2 separate regions of the Homo sapiens genome follow, and region 2 is linked to region 1. The links are contacts of gene promoters, found by promoter capture Hi-C in blood cells and fetal thymus (Javierre and others, 2016). All regions are on one chromosome and are shown on one strand. The core of a region is centred on a gene start or on the middle of the fragment in contact, and the rest is flanking DNA. Distances in the headings are between cores, read along the strand shown. Region 1 holds the start of PRMT6 (protein arginine methyltransferase 6). Region 2 has its middle 370 kb from the start of MIR7852.

What was found. The method cuts DNA at HindIII sites, captures the fragments that hold promoters and counts their contacts. A CHiCAGO score of 5 or more calls a contact.
Region 2: a contact is called between a fragment that was not itself captured here and the fragment with the promoter of PRMT6 in region 1, in 4 of 17 cell types (naive B cells, total B cells, fetal thymus and 1 more). The highest score is 8.9, in naive B cells.

What each region holds. Positions count from the first base shown.
Region 1 is chr1:107,053,538-107,060,867 of GRCh38, reverse strand. PRMT6 (protein arginine methyltransferase 6) reads right to left here and starts at 4,194. Exons shown (of 1, transcript NM_018137.3): 1 at 1,574-4,194. The coding sequence starts at 4,152. The coding sequence ends at 3,025. RefSeq lists enhancers at 3,393-3,602, 3,613-3,742, 3,753-3,892, 3,913-3,962. The HindIII fragment of the contact is 2,330 bases long and covers 4,131-6,460 here.
Region 2 is chr1:107,525,702-107,533,031 of GRCh38, reverse strand. No RefSeq gene overlaps it. Among named protein-coding and RNA genes, the nearest start is that of MIR7852, 370 kb to the left of the region's middle. The HindIII fragment of the contact is 238 bases long and covers 3,920-4,157 here.

The DNA of each region.
Region 1 (7,330 bases), core at 2,945-5,444:
CAGGCGTGAGCCACCGTGCCCACTTCTGTTTTTAATTGAAGCAGGCAAGATTAATATAATAAACATGTGAATTTTTGTTTGGAGTTAGGAATTAAAAGCCAAGAATTAGCTATGTAAACTTAGGCCAAGTCCTTCAATATCTGTATAACTCTTGTTCCTGGTATGTAAATTGAGTTAATTACTTGCCCTTTCTAACACCAAGACCATCCCAGTCTTTAGCCCATTATCATTTATTGTACTTACCATTTTATCTTATGAACATATCATTTGAAGGAAGAAACTGTGTTTTGTTGGTTTGTATCCTAAATGCTTATCACAATGACTGTTGCATTGTATACTCAATAAAATGTCCATTGGTCCAATGAATTAATGAAAATATTTGTAAACTTTCACAGCGCAAAATAAATGTAAGTTGTTTGAGGGAAGCAGGTTGAACTTTACCATGTTTTCCTCTCCTTTGGGCCTGGTAGTTCCTGCCTGTGGTCCAATGGCACCAAGCAGTCAGTACCAGTCCATACAGACAGATTGGACAGTGCCTGGATGTTGATACATCTTACACCTTCATCCTTCTGGAGGTGTCCTCACTCCAGAGGTCTTGAATTCCCTTTGGATCATTTGGTGTACAGTGTCATACATTGCTCCTCACGTACAACCACATACTGTTGAATACCTGTAAAAAAAATCAAAATGTTGAATATTTATTCTGTCACACATTTTGCATGCATCCAAGTGCTCCAGGTTTGACTTTTCCCTAACTACCACACTGAGGCTTTATTGAGATCTTATTACATACCAGACATTATGTAGTCACATGTATTAACTCATTCTATTCTCACATCTATGACATAGGTACTATTGTTATCTCCATTTTGCATACGAGAGGAATTTCCTCCATTTTGAAGGAAAAAAAGGTGTTTAATATTTTGCCCAAGGTCACAAAGAGTGGTGGAGCCTAGGTTCTACTATGGGCTGTCTGGCTCCAGAGTCCAATTTTGTAGCCATTATGTTATGCTAACTCTTGACTAATTGCTTCAGTCGCTGTATTTTTATAATTCATTTTTCTTCTGGGAAGGAGTAATAAAAATCCTGAAGCTTACTTTAACTATGGAATACATACCCTTTACTTCTATAGTTCCTCCAAGTTTTAACTGAGGTTCCCTTTATGTGCTTATACTGATAATGATAACTCTATAGTATTTATCAAATATATAAAAAATAGAATTTGGAAGAATATTCTCATTTATCACTTAGTAAAGGAATTGTTAAATCAAGTTTTTTTTAAAAAACAAACCAAACCACCAGAAACCTACTCAAAATCACACACTCAAACTCTAAATAAATATTTGATTTAAAACATAGAACACCTTATAAGGAGCTCTATTTTCCCTCTAGCTTAAGTCTAGCTTGCTGTGACTGTAGCATTTACATGAGATGATCACTATCTTAGCATCAAAATGGTGACGGTTACAACTGTACTGCTTGCTACTCAATTATCTTGTAAATTGATAATTTTGTACATGTATATCTCTCCATGATGGAAGATCTGTGTTATATACAACCAAAGTTTAGCAAATTAGTTTTTATACTCTAATACTTTAATATGCAATGAATAAAAGGGCAGAAAATTCAGAATTACAATAAATGTTAGGCTATTTCAGAACACCAGTTTTTCACACCTATTTTCTTAGCATACAGAAGCTCGAAAATCATACATTAAGCATAGTTTGAATTGTCCTGAAGTTATATTCTGAAGGGGCTGTAACACTTAAGAACTAATAATATTAAAAAGGCAAAAGCATTATAACTCACAGCACACAAGACTTTTTACCTCATCTATAAAACGTGAGAATGTCAATGTTTTATTGGCTACAAGGATAAGGAAGGAAACATCAGAGAAATAAATTTGATAACAAGATTCACACTTCATTACAAGTGATTTTCCTAAATTCACAACTTTCACATTTGGCTGAGTGAAAGAGAAAAACAAAACAAAACAAAACAAAACTGAAAAGGGAACTTTCACTACTTGTAAGTAGGCCAACTCACATGATCCCTCCAAATGAGAGAGTTTAAATGAGAATGAGTATACTTTTCTAGCTGGGAAAATATTTTCCTTAATTAAGTGAGTTTAAATAATTTACCCATGGTGATGAATAAGCCCTTGGGCTAGGCTCAGAAACCTCCTCTACCAGCCTGTTTCATAAGAATTACACAAATATTTTTATGGGACATACAAGAAATATTTTTTGGTTATAATAGTAGAGACAAGAATTTTTAAAAATCCATACTATTTCTTTCAGGTCTCTCTCTTAAATGCACCTTCTGAGTTTCTTAGGTATGCTGTACAATTACAAAGTCCATTTTACTTAACGGATTAATGTGTTCATCAACTTTAGCACCCTATGATGTATGTGGTCAGAGTAATGAGAACAGGGCTATTTAAACTGCTTCCTCATATCCTTCCCCTTAATTACCAGTAGTGAAGTTTACCTAGAAAACAATGAGGAAGAAGTACCATAGCCTACAGGCACCTAGGGAGGGGGAATTAATTCGGACTGAGAAAATATGGCTCTGGAGAGATACTAAAGTCGTACTGGAAATGTATGAAGTCTAAATGAACCCCTTTCTCCCCAGCTTCAGACTTAGATAAGGTGTGAGGTGTCAGGGATGTGCATGGACCCTTCAAAAACTGACATTTTCATCCGTGTTCTTCCCCCTCACTCCCCCGCGAAACAAAATATACGGAAATACAAGTGCTTGGTACTACATGCTTTTGAGGCTAAATGCCCAATAATAAGCACGCTGTATCCGTTGTTGAGGGGGATCACTTTTTAAGTAAACATCACCAGAAGAATCTCTTCAAATGGAGAATGAAGTCACTCTCCCTCCCTAGAGGCTATGAGGGAAAAGGGGGAGATATTCCCCCTACTTGCACGTGGGATCTCCCTTTCCCCTCCGACCTCGCTACGCCTCTCCCACGCAGGTCAGGCTGCTTTGGGAGGTAGCTGGGAGAAAAGGCAACGCTCAGTCCTCCATGGCAAAGTCTTTGGTCTTCTCCTCCTGGTCTCCCACTTTGTAGCGCAGCAGCACGCGCAGGCGACGGGGGTTGTCCCGGGAGGGCAGCAGCGTGATCTCTCCTGAAACGTCCGTGTCTTGCTCCACTTGCACCGGCTCGTTCAGGTAGAGGAGCGCCTGTTTCCAGTGAGTGGCCGGGTGAAAAGGCGAGGTGGACAGCACCAGGGGTTTCTCCGACTCCCCTCCAGGGAAGGTCACCTGGAACCAGATGGCAAAGCCATGCATGGGCGCCGAGCCATAGCAGCTGCAGCGGAAGCGCCCGCCCACTCCGGCCTCCAGCTCCTGCTCCAAGCCGGCGCGGGAGAGCTCTAGCTGAGCAAAGCGCTGCGGCCGGGCCAGCACGTCCTCGCCGGACAATCCCTGCACAACGATCTCCGAGTGGCCCATGAGACAGCGCGTGGCGAAGCCCTCCAGGCAGCTCATGTCCACACCATAGTGCTGCTTCACCTGGCTCCAGAAGCCCAGGCGCCATTCCAGCATCTGGTCGCTGATGGGGGCTATGAAGAGCTCGGCGGAGGCCGGCAGGAGAAGACCGCCCTCCTTCAGCCACTTGGTTCGCGCGTGGAGGACGGAGCTCAGCATGGACTCGTGCAGGAGTCCGTAGCCCATCCACTCGCTCACGATGGCATCCACCTGTTCCGGCAACTCTACAGTCTCCACTGGTCCCGGCAGGACGTGCACCCGGTCCTCCAGCCCGTTGAACCGCACCACCTCCCGGGCCTGTTGCCAGATGGCGCTGGCCTCTACCGCGTACACGCGCCGGGCCCCGGCCTGGGCACAGAAGATGCTCAGAATGCCGGTGCCCGCGCCCACGTCCAGTACCGTCTTGCCTCGCAGTGCTGCCCAGTTCCGAAGGATACCCAGGCGGTAGGCATCGGTGCGGACGCGGTCCGCGATCATCTCCTCGTGGACCGAAACGTCCGAGTAGCACTCGTAGTACAGCTGGTCCCGTTCCCGCTTAGTCCTCCGGGGTCGCTCCAGGGCCGCCTCCCGCTCCGCGCCATCTTCCTCTTCAGTTCCCTCCCCTCCTTCGCCGCCGCCCCCCGACTCAAGCTTTCTTTTCTTGGGCTGCGACATCTTGGCCGCTCTGCCCGGCTCCCGGCGGGCGTAGCGCGGCACGGCGCGGGCTCCAGGAAACGGGGGCTTCTGGGACTTGTAGTGCGCGCTCGTCCTTCCTACTTCCTGCGGGGTCGCCCGGCCGGCGGCGCGGAAGGTCTCCTGTGCCTGCTCACGGGAGCTGTTTTGTATTGCTCTTCTGGTGTCCTGGCATCCCTTTTCCCACCCACGACGCCCACATTCTGAGATCCTTTCATTCCCCCTCCCACCCTTAGCTCCTCAGTTTTTTGCTTTCACTCCCTTCCTGAAGTAGGCACGCACACTTAAGACTAATAATCCACCTTTGTTTCTTCTGCTGAACTCACCTCTGTTTTTTTTGTTTGTTTTTCTGTTTTTTGTTTTTTTTGAGAGGGAGTTTCGCTCTTGTTTCCCAGGCTGGAGTGCAATGGCGCGATCTCCGCTCACCGCAACCTCCGCCTCCTGGGTTCAAGCGATTCTCCTGCCTCAGCCTCCCGAGTTGCTGGGATTACGGGCGCATGCCACCAGGGCCGGCTAATTTTGTATTTTTGGTAGACGGGGTTTCTCCCTGTTGGTCAGGCTGGTCTCAAACTCGCGACCTCAGGTGATCCGCCCACCTCGGCCTCCCAAAGTGCTGGGATTACAAGCGTGAGCCACCGCGCCCGGCCTAACTCACCTCTGGTTTTATTCCACCGAATTAACATGGCAGCACCATCCACCCACTACCGCCTTAACTGGACAATTGTAGCTCTTAAAGTGCTCCAGCTGTGGCAATTTAGAAACTGCACTACGCATTTCTTTTTTCTGTTTTCAGTGCAGTTAGAGTGCAAATGTAACAAAATTAAAACCTAACAATGCAAAATCTTGGTTCTGATTCCAGTATGACCACTAATTAGTTGAGTGATTTAGGGCAAATAATAGAACTTCTCTGGCCTTTAGTTGCCCATTCACCCACCAGCGAATCTTCATTGCAGTTGGGGAAGAACTAGGTTTCTGGTTCTACTTAGAAGAATAGTTACTTGGCTTTCGGCTCTGCTCTGATAATTCTGTGGCTCTCTTAAGAGTTAAATCCTGAAAAGTGCAGACTCAAGAGCCATGTGATACAAGCAAACTCGTTGCTAGGTGTATTCTATATATATATGCGTTTTTTTCTCTCAGAAATAACGGAATCAATTTCTTTTAATCACTTTCTCAATGCAATTCATTTTTTCCTGTGTTTTCTTGTCCGGGCAATATTGACACTCTCCTCTTTCTCTTATATTTTTCTTGTAGTCAACCATCAGCTGTTACTCTCTTTTTGTTGTCCATAATGGAAATAAAATATGTTTTTAAATATGTGTGGCATCTGTATGGGTGTCCGTGTTATTAACAAGGTGGGCATAATGCCATTTTCTGCCAGCTTGAAAAAAAAGTCACTCAGAGTAAAATGGATTTTTATTTTCTTGTGGTCTTGAATTATGTCCTTGTAACCAATAGGCCTGTATTCCTTGTCTGGGATCAAAGTTCTTTCATCCTATTTTCTCTATTAATCTTTCATTAGCAGAATAGGTTTATTGATATGGCATCCTTAGCTGTACTCTACTTCTAACTCAAGACTCTCCATCCTGGCTGCTTATTAGAATTCTCTAAGGAGCTTTTTAAAAAATACCGATGCCTGGGTCTACCTCAGACCAATTAAATCGGAATCACTCCAGTGGAACCTGGGCTTCTAGTTTTTAAAAGCTCCCCAGGGAATTCTAATGGGCAGCCAGGGTGAGAACAACTGTTTCTCACTAAAATGATCTTAGTTAAATCTTGCTTCGTTATTTTAATTGGGTAAATTGTATTTTTTTCAGTGGCCTGGGCTCAACCATTTAAGGCTAAAAACCTTGAAGTATTTCTTCTCTTTTTCTGCCTTGGTTTAATATCTTATTTTAAGATAATTGAGGCCCAGTGTAGGACATCAGATTAGAGTTGTAAATGTGACCACTTTAATATGTTACTTTTATTAATAGGTTGTTACTTAGTGTATACTTTTGCCATTCTTTCTTTCCTCAAAATGTCACCTTTTCCTTTTAAATACATTCATTCCTTCACCCAATTTTCAATTCACTTCCTTATGGTCTCTTTTAAGAAAATTCTGAATATAAGTTTCACTGGTTCTACCTCCAAAATATATCTTGAATCCATCTGCTTTTCTCCATTTCTATTGTCAACACCCTAGTCTAATCTTCCATATTGACTTGCCTGAAAATTAGTCTCCTAAGGGATCGCTCAGCTTCTAATCTCAACCCTATCTAATCCCTTCTCTACATAGCTGAAAGAATAAGCTTTTATAAAACCCATTGGGCCATGTCATTCTTCAGTAACTTCCCGTGTTAGTTAATGGAACAATTCAGTAACTTCAGGTAACTTCCCATCTCATCTCATACCATTTTTCCCAACTCTTCATTGGGCTCAAGATATACTGGTTTCTAATAACACATTTCTTTCCTGTGTCAGGTCGTCATGCATACTCTTCTGGTGCTGAGAAAATTGTTTTTCTCCTTAGCACTTCACTTTAGTGGCTTCTCATCCTTCATGTCTCAACTTAAATGTTACCTCATGAAAAAGGCCTTTCCTGGCTTCCTTAAATAATATTTTCAAACCCAAGACACTATTTTGTTCCCTCCCAGCATTCATTATTATCTGTATGTATTTAATTAATTTATTTGTTTTCTATACAATATCAACTCCAGGAGACTTGGACTTTTGTATTCCCACTATTGCAGTCCTTAGCACTACAACAGAAGCTGGCACATAGAAAGTGCTCAATAAATAGTCTTGAACAAAGTCTATTGTGGATGTAGAGAGTTTTGCTTCATTAGTTCAATGTGACAATGTGACTTGGTAAACTCTGAGATAGATCCAGATATAGATAGAATGTGGAATGCTCCCAGAAATGAGAATAGTATAAATTTTAAATACTGTTAATGCTTCTAGATAGAATAGTGGTAAGCACCAAACATTATCCCTAGAGCAGATTAAAAAAGGTCTGTGGCACTTTCCTTTCCTGCCCTTTTATTTGATATAGAGAAGGAGTTCTTTACTGATCTTTTGTACCACAGTGAGATGTTTTAAGTAGGAAAGGGACCTAGATCATAGCCCTTCCCTAAGCCGTGCGGCTCAGCAGCAAACCACCTGCATGGGAGAAGAGTTGGAG
Region 2 (7,330 bases), core at 2,789-5,288, 470 kb before region 1:
CTTTCCTCTACCTGCTGGCTTAAAATTGTGATCCCTCTCCACCCTTAAGTCGGAGAAGGGCAGAGTGCCCCCCAGTCCTCCGCTCAGAAGCAATAAGAACAGAAAAACTGCAGGCCAAGTTGAGCCTCACTTTGAACATGGCAATGGCTGTTTAACAAATGCCACAGGGGCTTCTTGTGACAGGGACGAAAAGAGTGAGAGGGCCAGGGACGCTGCTGAGGGGTTCTGGGAAGCTCACCAGGGCCTTTCAGGAATTGAGGCTGCCTGACTGCCCGGAGCCTGGCCCTGAGAGTGGGCAGGTGTGCTGCCTGTATAATGCCCTTGATCTCTAAGAGAAACAGTGGCAAACCAATCAGATGGCAACCTCCTGCCAAGGACTCCATTAGCCCGCTCTGGTGGCTGCTTCTGAAGTGGCGGCTGCTGGCTCCACTCGCTCCCCTGTTCAGAGAGGACATATGGGCCAGGCAGTGATCAATGAGGGAACATCTGGCACAGGAGCAAATCAAACAGCACCGATGACTAATTTAGGAGTGTTGCCTTGCCATTGTTCTTTCTGTGGCCCCATGCAAAGGTCACCCAGTGTGGCAGGCTCAGAGAAGCTGCTGCTTCACCTTCAGCAGTCCCCAGGATCCAACTTGTTTGCCTTAAAAATGAATCGATAGCTTCTTCTTTGAGGGCTGAAACAGCAGCTCCCTATCACTGAATCCTGAATTCTCACGTGCATGGTCAGCCCCCTCCTTGCAAGCCCCTAGGCACCCCTGTTTCTTATTAGCCATTTATCATCTTGCCTCTGAAGTCTCTCTCTTAAAAAAAAAAAAAGAAAAAGAAAAGAAAAAAAAACACTCTACTGAATTCATGTTCTATTTCTGCAACTGAGATTTTTCTCCTTTGGGTTCAAATAAAAGAAATAGCAAATATTAAAGAGCATGAGAGAAAAAGGCACACATGCCTGGCCCATGAATAGACAAGATTGCCTGTAGTTCTGATTTTGGTGGTTTATATAATAGCTTCAAATGCTGGTGAAGACAGGTCTCAGCCTTGCCAGAAATGATCTCTAAATTAAACAGCCATTTTCTTTTAAATTACCTTTAATGGCACATTAGAACCACATAATTTTCAGCCTTGAAGGAGGATTTGGTAGGATATTGGGTGCTATTCGTTTCCTCTTTTTGGGTCAGGAGAGCGCATCAGACAGTTTATGTGTAAAAGTTCTCCATCGGAAATGATACACTTTTTCTTGAGAATTTATTCTCATGTATGAAAGGTGTGCTGTGGGATAAGCCATGTCTTCTGTGATTGACAGTTTGCGTCCTAGCTCACTGATAACACCCAGCTGGCTGTCATGGTGGCAAGGCCTCCTGCTTCTCCTTCTCATCTGGTATCACACACTCATGGGCCTGGGGATGCGCAGAGTCATGGGCTTGAAGGGGTGGTATCCTACTGCTGCCCAGTCACAATTACTCATCTCTCAGAAACACCTAGAAATAAACTGATCCTCTTCCTGGTGGACAGAACATGTTCTATTCCCCGTTCATTCAATTCCCAAGGGAAGTGAATGCTCAATTTCTCTGCTGTTTTATCCTGCAGTCATCCAGCTTCTAAGAGTGATTCTGGAGTCGTCTTGCTGGTTATCTCCATCGGATTTCTTCAGTACAACACTAGCCCCCTCCCACCCTTCATTAACATAGATTGGCATCCTTTATAAGACAAGCAGCCCAGGCAGCTGGGTGATCATTTGAGTGACAAGAGAAGTGGATTCTAGTCTAGCTTAGTCACAAACTCGCTATAGGCTCAGAGACAAGTTACAACCTCTCTGGGCTTCAGTAGCTACACCTTTTAAGGTACACGATGTTCTCTGGGGGAGGGATAGCATTAGGAGAAATACCTAATGTAAATGATGAGTTGATGGGTGCAGCAAACCAACACGGCACATGTATACCTATGTATCAAACCTGCACGTTGTACACATGTACCCTAGAACTTAAAGTATAATAATAATAAAAAGAACAGGTAAAAAAATAATAAAAAAAAGATACACGAATCTAGATCTTCTGATTTGGTAATAATCGAAGGGGGGTGGTGGGTAACAGATTCAGGGAAAAAGAGAAACGGGAAAACTATGCTTCGTCAACAAGGCAATAATGGTGAACCAATGTGTGTTTAGAGGCCCTATATGCTTGTGTTCAGAGTATTCCATTGTGTCTTTGCTATCCGAAGCTGCTCAGGGACATAGTCATGAATCAAGACTTCCAGTAAATGCCTCTGGAACGTGGAGGAATGAGAACCTGGCAGGAAGACAGTGCAGGGCATTGTCTGGAGCTCGTTCCTCTTGGTTGCGTGACTGCCCATTATGACTGTCTGATGATGGCAATGTGATCATTTGTCTAGCAATTACAAAGCATCTTCATTTTACTGCCTCTTTTAATGTTCCCAATAACCCTGTGAAGTAAATATTATTCTCCCTACTTTAGAGATGAAAACCCTGAGGTTTAGAAAGGTTAATGACTTGTTATATGATGCTCAGGTACTAAAGAGTAGAGTTGAGATACAAAGCTAAGACTTCTGATTTCACATATAATACAATTTCCATATTTTCAACAGTTGTCAGACTGTGCCCTCAAAGGTGTGGGTTTGGAGGATGTGTCTGGGGTGGTGGCGGGGGTGGGAGAGAAAAGCTAAACCAGTGGCGCTCAGACTCCCTGCTTCAATCAAAGCACCTTTATTGTTCTATTCTATATTTATATAATGCCACCCTAAATTTGGCTTTAAACAAAATGTTTCTAGTGCTAAAAAGTCAAGTTTATGAGACGCAAAATATACCATTGTGGTGTTGAAGATGAAACCTTTTTTCAGTCTCTTTACTCGGAGGATTCTGCGTTCTTTGTTCCAACAATCCCAGCTCGAAATCCTCTCTCTCTCTCTCTCTCAGAGGAGCTGACCACAGATGCTCTTACTTCTCTCAGTCCAGTGAGCCATATTCTGTTTTTTGTGGGCCTTTCACAGGAAAAGTGTTCTGTGGCCAAGGTAGTTGATAACAAGCCAGATGTTCAGCCCAGATAGAGACCCCATTCCTTTCCTTAGAAGAATTGACCCACATGTTCCAACTTGCCTCATAAATATAAAAAGAAAAGCCTAGCTTCCATTTTAATTAGATGAAATAATTACATGTCACACATCTCTTAAGCAGTTTTATACTCGCTCTGACTGTGATGCAGGGATTAGCATTCAAAGACGCTGCTTGCCCTGTGTACAGATGTTGGGTTTATAGACTGTCATGCTCCTTGTGGCCACAAGATGTCAGGCAAATATGGTCATGGGATATAGGTGCAGGAAGGTGCCTTGGCTCCTGAAAATACCATTGACGAGTTCATTAGCTGATTAAAATCCTTCCAATAAGCTTGTTGGAAGAACCTAGGGAAAGTCTATGAAATGTGTCATATTGTTATCCTGTTGATGGAGACGCTGAACACGACTAGGAGGTAATCAGATTAAGATCAACAAATATTGATTGTACATGCTTGCACGATTAAATCCTGAATAATTAAAGGCCACTGAGTTTCCTAGCTCTCATCTTAGTGTGTGTTTCCATAAGCAACATGTGCTGTGTTTCCAAAGTACCATGAATAGACATGGCTATAGGAAAGAAATGGGATCAGTCAGAGAATCAATCACTTTTAAAAGTTTCAGTTTGAAAATCTGATGAAATAAAGAAGTGGGTTTTAAGTTAACAGCTATTCTATAATCATGAGACATTTTATAAACCAAAATATATAAAATAAAGCCATACACTGAAACTTGTGCATACTTCTAATGTAGATTTGTTTACTCCATGATTTGAATGATTTGTTAATTAACAGCTGATCTGACACACCACCCCTCACTATTCTTTTAGTCTCTGGACCGACTTTCTATAGAAGCTTCCTTGGGGTCTGGCAGAAGGAAGCAGTAATGACAAGCAAAGGTTGAGCTCAATCGATCTGTGGTTATTGAGTTCCTACAGAGAGCTGGGTGCTGCTGAGGCTGCAGCAGACCTAGAGGGCATGGCTTATGCCTCACTGTTTCTTCCCTTTCATTTATCTCTTTCTTCTAATTTTCTGTGTTCTACTTCTTAACTCTTCAGATGCTTCTTACTGCTAAGCTAGGTGAGGGGATAAGCTTTTATTTATTTACCTTTGAAAACATGCTGATCTCCTACTATGTGCTAGACTTTGGCCTGGAGATTCAGAGACAAATTTTAAAATGGTGCTTACCTTGCTCATGGATCCGGCAAGCCAAAAATCGTATTACAGCAGTATGGCACTGGCAATGCAATCAAGTAAATGTCCTATGGAGCGCACAGGCAAAGGGGGATTCATTCCGCTTGGTCCTGAGGGCATTGTGGTACTTCACAACAATGTAAATTGGAACTCATCAAGTGAACAGGGATGGGGCAGCCTGAAGAATTAGAATATGTGAAGGCAAGTCTGTTCCAGTAAAAGCTAAGCTGCTGTGAGAAAGAGATCTGCAGTACAGTAACTTGAAAAGATAGATGTCCATTTTCCTCTCATATAATAGTCTAAAGGTAGGCAGTCTGGTGGGGCTGCCCTACTCCATGAGGTCATTCAGGGACCATGGTCCTTCCAACTTGTTGCTCCACCATCCTCTAGGCATTTTTCACACTGCTGGAGCATCAGCTGGCTTGCCATTTCCAGCCGTGTGAAGAATAGGGAGAAGTGGTCCAGGGTAAGTTACTTTATTATAGTAAGGAAGGCAGAAATTGCACACTTCTTTATATTTCATTGACTTTGACATGACCACATCTAGCCTCAAGGGGGGCAGGGAAATATGCTTGTAATAAGGTGGTTCTGTACCCATGAAAAAAACAGGAAAAACAAGTTACGGGGGCAACTAGCATCTCGCCACAGCAGAGGCACGTGGAAGGGAATAGTCTGTTGTGGAACTTGCACGCAGTGGAGTGTAGCTGGATCATGGCTCATGTGACTGGTAAGGTGGGGCCAGGATGTGGAGGAGTTTGAATGCTACATTGCTAAAAAAAATTTTAATGAAGCCAGCATGCTGAGCTTTGTGTTTGAGGGTAAGTCACTCTAGCACCTGAGGGTTGAGGAAGCGTTTGGAATGATTAGACTGAAGGCTGTTGTCGTTTTAGGTCCAGGTGAAAGAAGGTGAAGGCTTCTCTCAGGAAAGGAGAGCCAAGGGTAATGGGGAAAGTAGATTTAAGAGACATTTAAGCCAGAACTAGAACTTAAACTGGCTGGTAAGTTTCTACAGGTCACCTCAATTAAAAACTGTTAATGAACCACACTGACAGTATTTTTATTATTAGCAAAGTCTCTTCAACAGAGAACAGGCTAAATGTTTCTTTGACCCCTGCCCTCAGCTTTTGTCAAATGTGCACATTCTAGAAATTAAGGGAGCACAGTGGGGTCTTTATGGTTTAACAAGTTGGGTCCATGTTCACTTCTCATATATTCTCAAGACAATCTTGTGGGTTCGGAACACAGAATAATATGTCAGTACATTAAGAGTGTCTCTGTCATTTGCCCCTCAGGGATTGGGACACAAACCAAGTTCACAGAGACTGATATATATTAGCTAGATCACCAATTTAGTCATCTGTAATTAGAAAAGCTACTGGCAGACAGACATATGTCAACTTGGCCTGCTCTCTGGGGGGCACTCTACATGGGAAGTCAAATTATCAGAAGATTGCTTGAGGGGTGTGGAACTGAACAAGGGGAATTATACATTTGAATATTAAATGGTGTTAAGCTTCGATAGCTTCATGCATTCATCTCCAAGGTGGGAACGTGGCTGTCAGGAACACTAACTTCTTTGTTTGGACTTACCAGGCATCTTGTCCTAGACAAATCTAAGAAGAAATTTCCAAACTTGGAAACTTCGGCATTTCCATCAGTATAACCACATACTAGGGGGTATTTATAATTAAGCACCACACATGGAGACTCTGATAAGCACCAAGACCCCCCTGCCCCAATGTGAAAACTGTTGGGAGTATGGTTTATTCTGGAGAGGAGCCAGAGGAGATCAAACACTGAGAGATCAAAGACTGACTGGGGCTAGCAAACGTTTTCTCCAAAGGGCTAGAGAGTAAATACTTAGGAAATGTAGACCACATGATTCTGTCATAGCTACAGAACTCCATCATTGTAGCACAGAAACAGGCTTAGACAATATGTAAACAAATGTTCCAATGAAACCTTATTTACAGAAACAGGCAGCAAGCTGGACTTGGCCCACAGGCCATTGTTTGCTGACCCCTTGAGATGCCAGTCCTAGATTATCAGTTCACAAAACCTTTCTCCAAAGAGGATTCAATACTATTGATTTTTTTTCTACTGACTAAATCCTAATTATGTTCAAGTTTGCCATCCCTGGGTTTGCTCCTAGATCACCCTGACTAGAATTTGGGGTGTTTCTAAAGCTATAAGGCACAGATAATCTCTTGGTTTACTCCCACAGATATGTGTCACATCTACTGTTTGACTAGTTGAAGTTTTCAAAGCCCATCTTATTTCTCTCCAAGTTCCAGGGTAGCAACTCACTCTGTATCTATGAATAAAACCCATTTTACAGACGAGCAATCCACCTTAGAGTGACCCAGGTGAGTGTCAGAGCTGAGACTGGATGTCAAGTCATCCACCTGCAGGCCCAGCATTTACTCTACTTGGTCATATTTTCCTGGGTAGATTCTAACTCTGTAGGCTTACAATTTGGACAGGGAGGTAAATTAATTTAGCTCAGTGTAATGACAACAGAGAAATGTGGTAGTATGGGTATGGTAGAAAATGATTAGGGCTTGGGGGCTGTGAAAACAAACAAAACTGAAATGTAAACCTGAGCTCACTGCCTAACATCTATAGCAAACATGGCCTTTCTAGAACAAAGAAAAGAGGTGATTTAGTCATTGAAGCTAAAGGGGTTTTATATGACTGTGTGTTTGGATTTAATCTCTATACTTCATTAAGGATGCGGTGGTGAACAATGTCTGCTTCCCATCGTACTGATGAAGGGCAATGAGACCAGAAATATCCTTCAGTCATCTGTGAGTGGCTTTGGGTGTTGCCAGGCTTGGCAGATGGAATTCAGAAAAATGTTGATTTATGTGTCCCTCATTGTTACAGCAGTGGTATTATAAATTGGATGTCCTTATTCTGACTGGTGGCACTCCTATGGTACCCTTCTTGACCCTAAGCCCCACCCCCTGTAGAAATCAACTGCTCCCTCTTCTCTGTAAGTCTGGCTCCAATAAGGCCTACAACACTTTAGGGATTTGTCCTTTTACAGGTCTCTTCCTCTCTTTCCTTTGAAG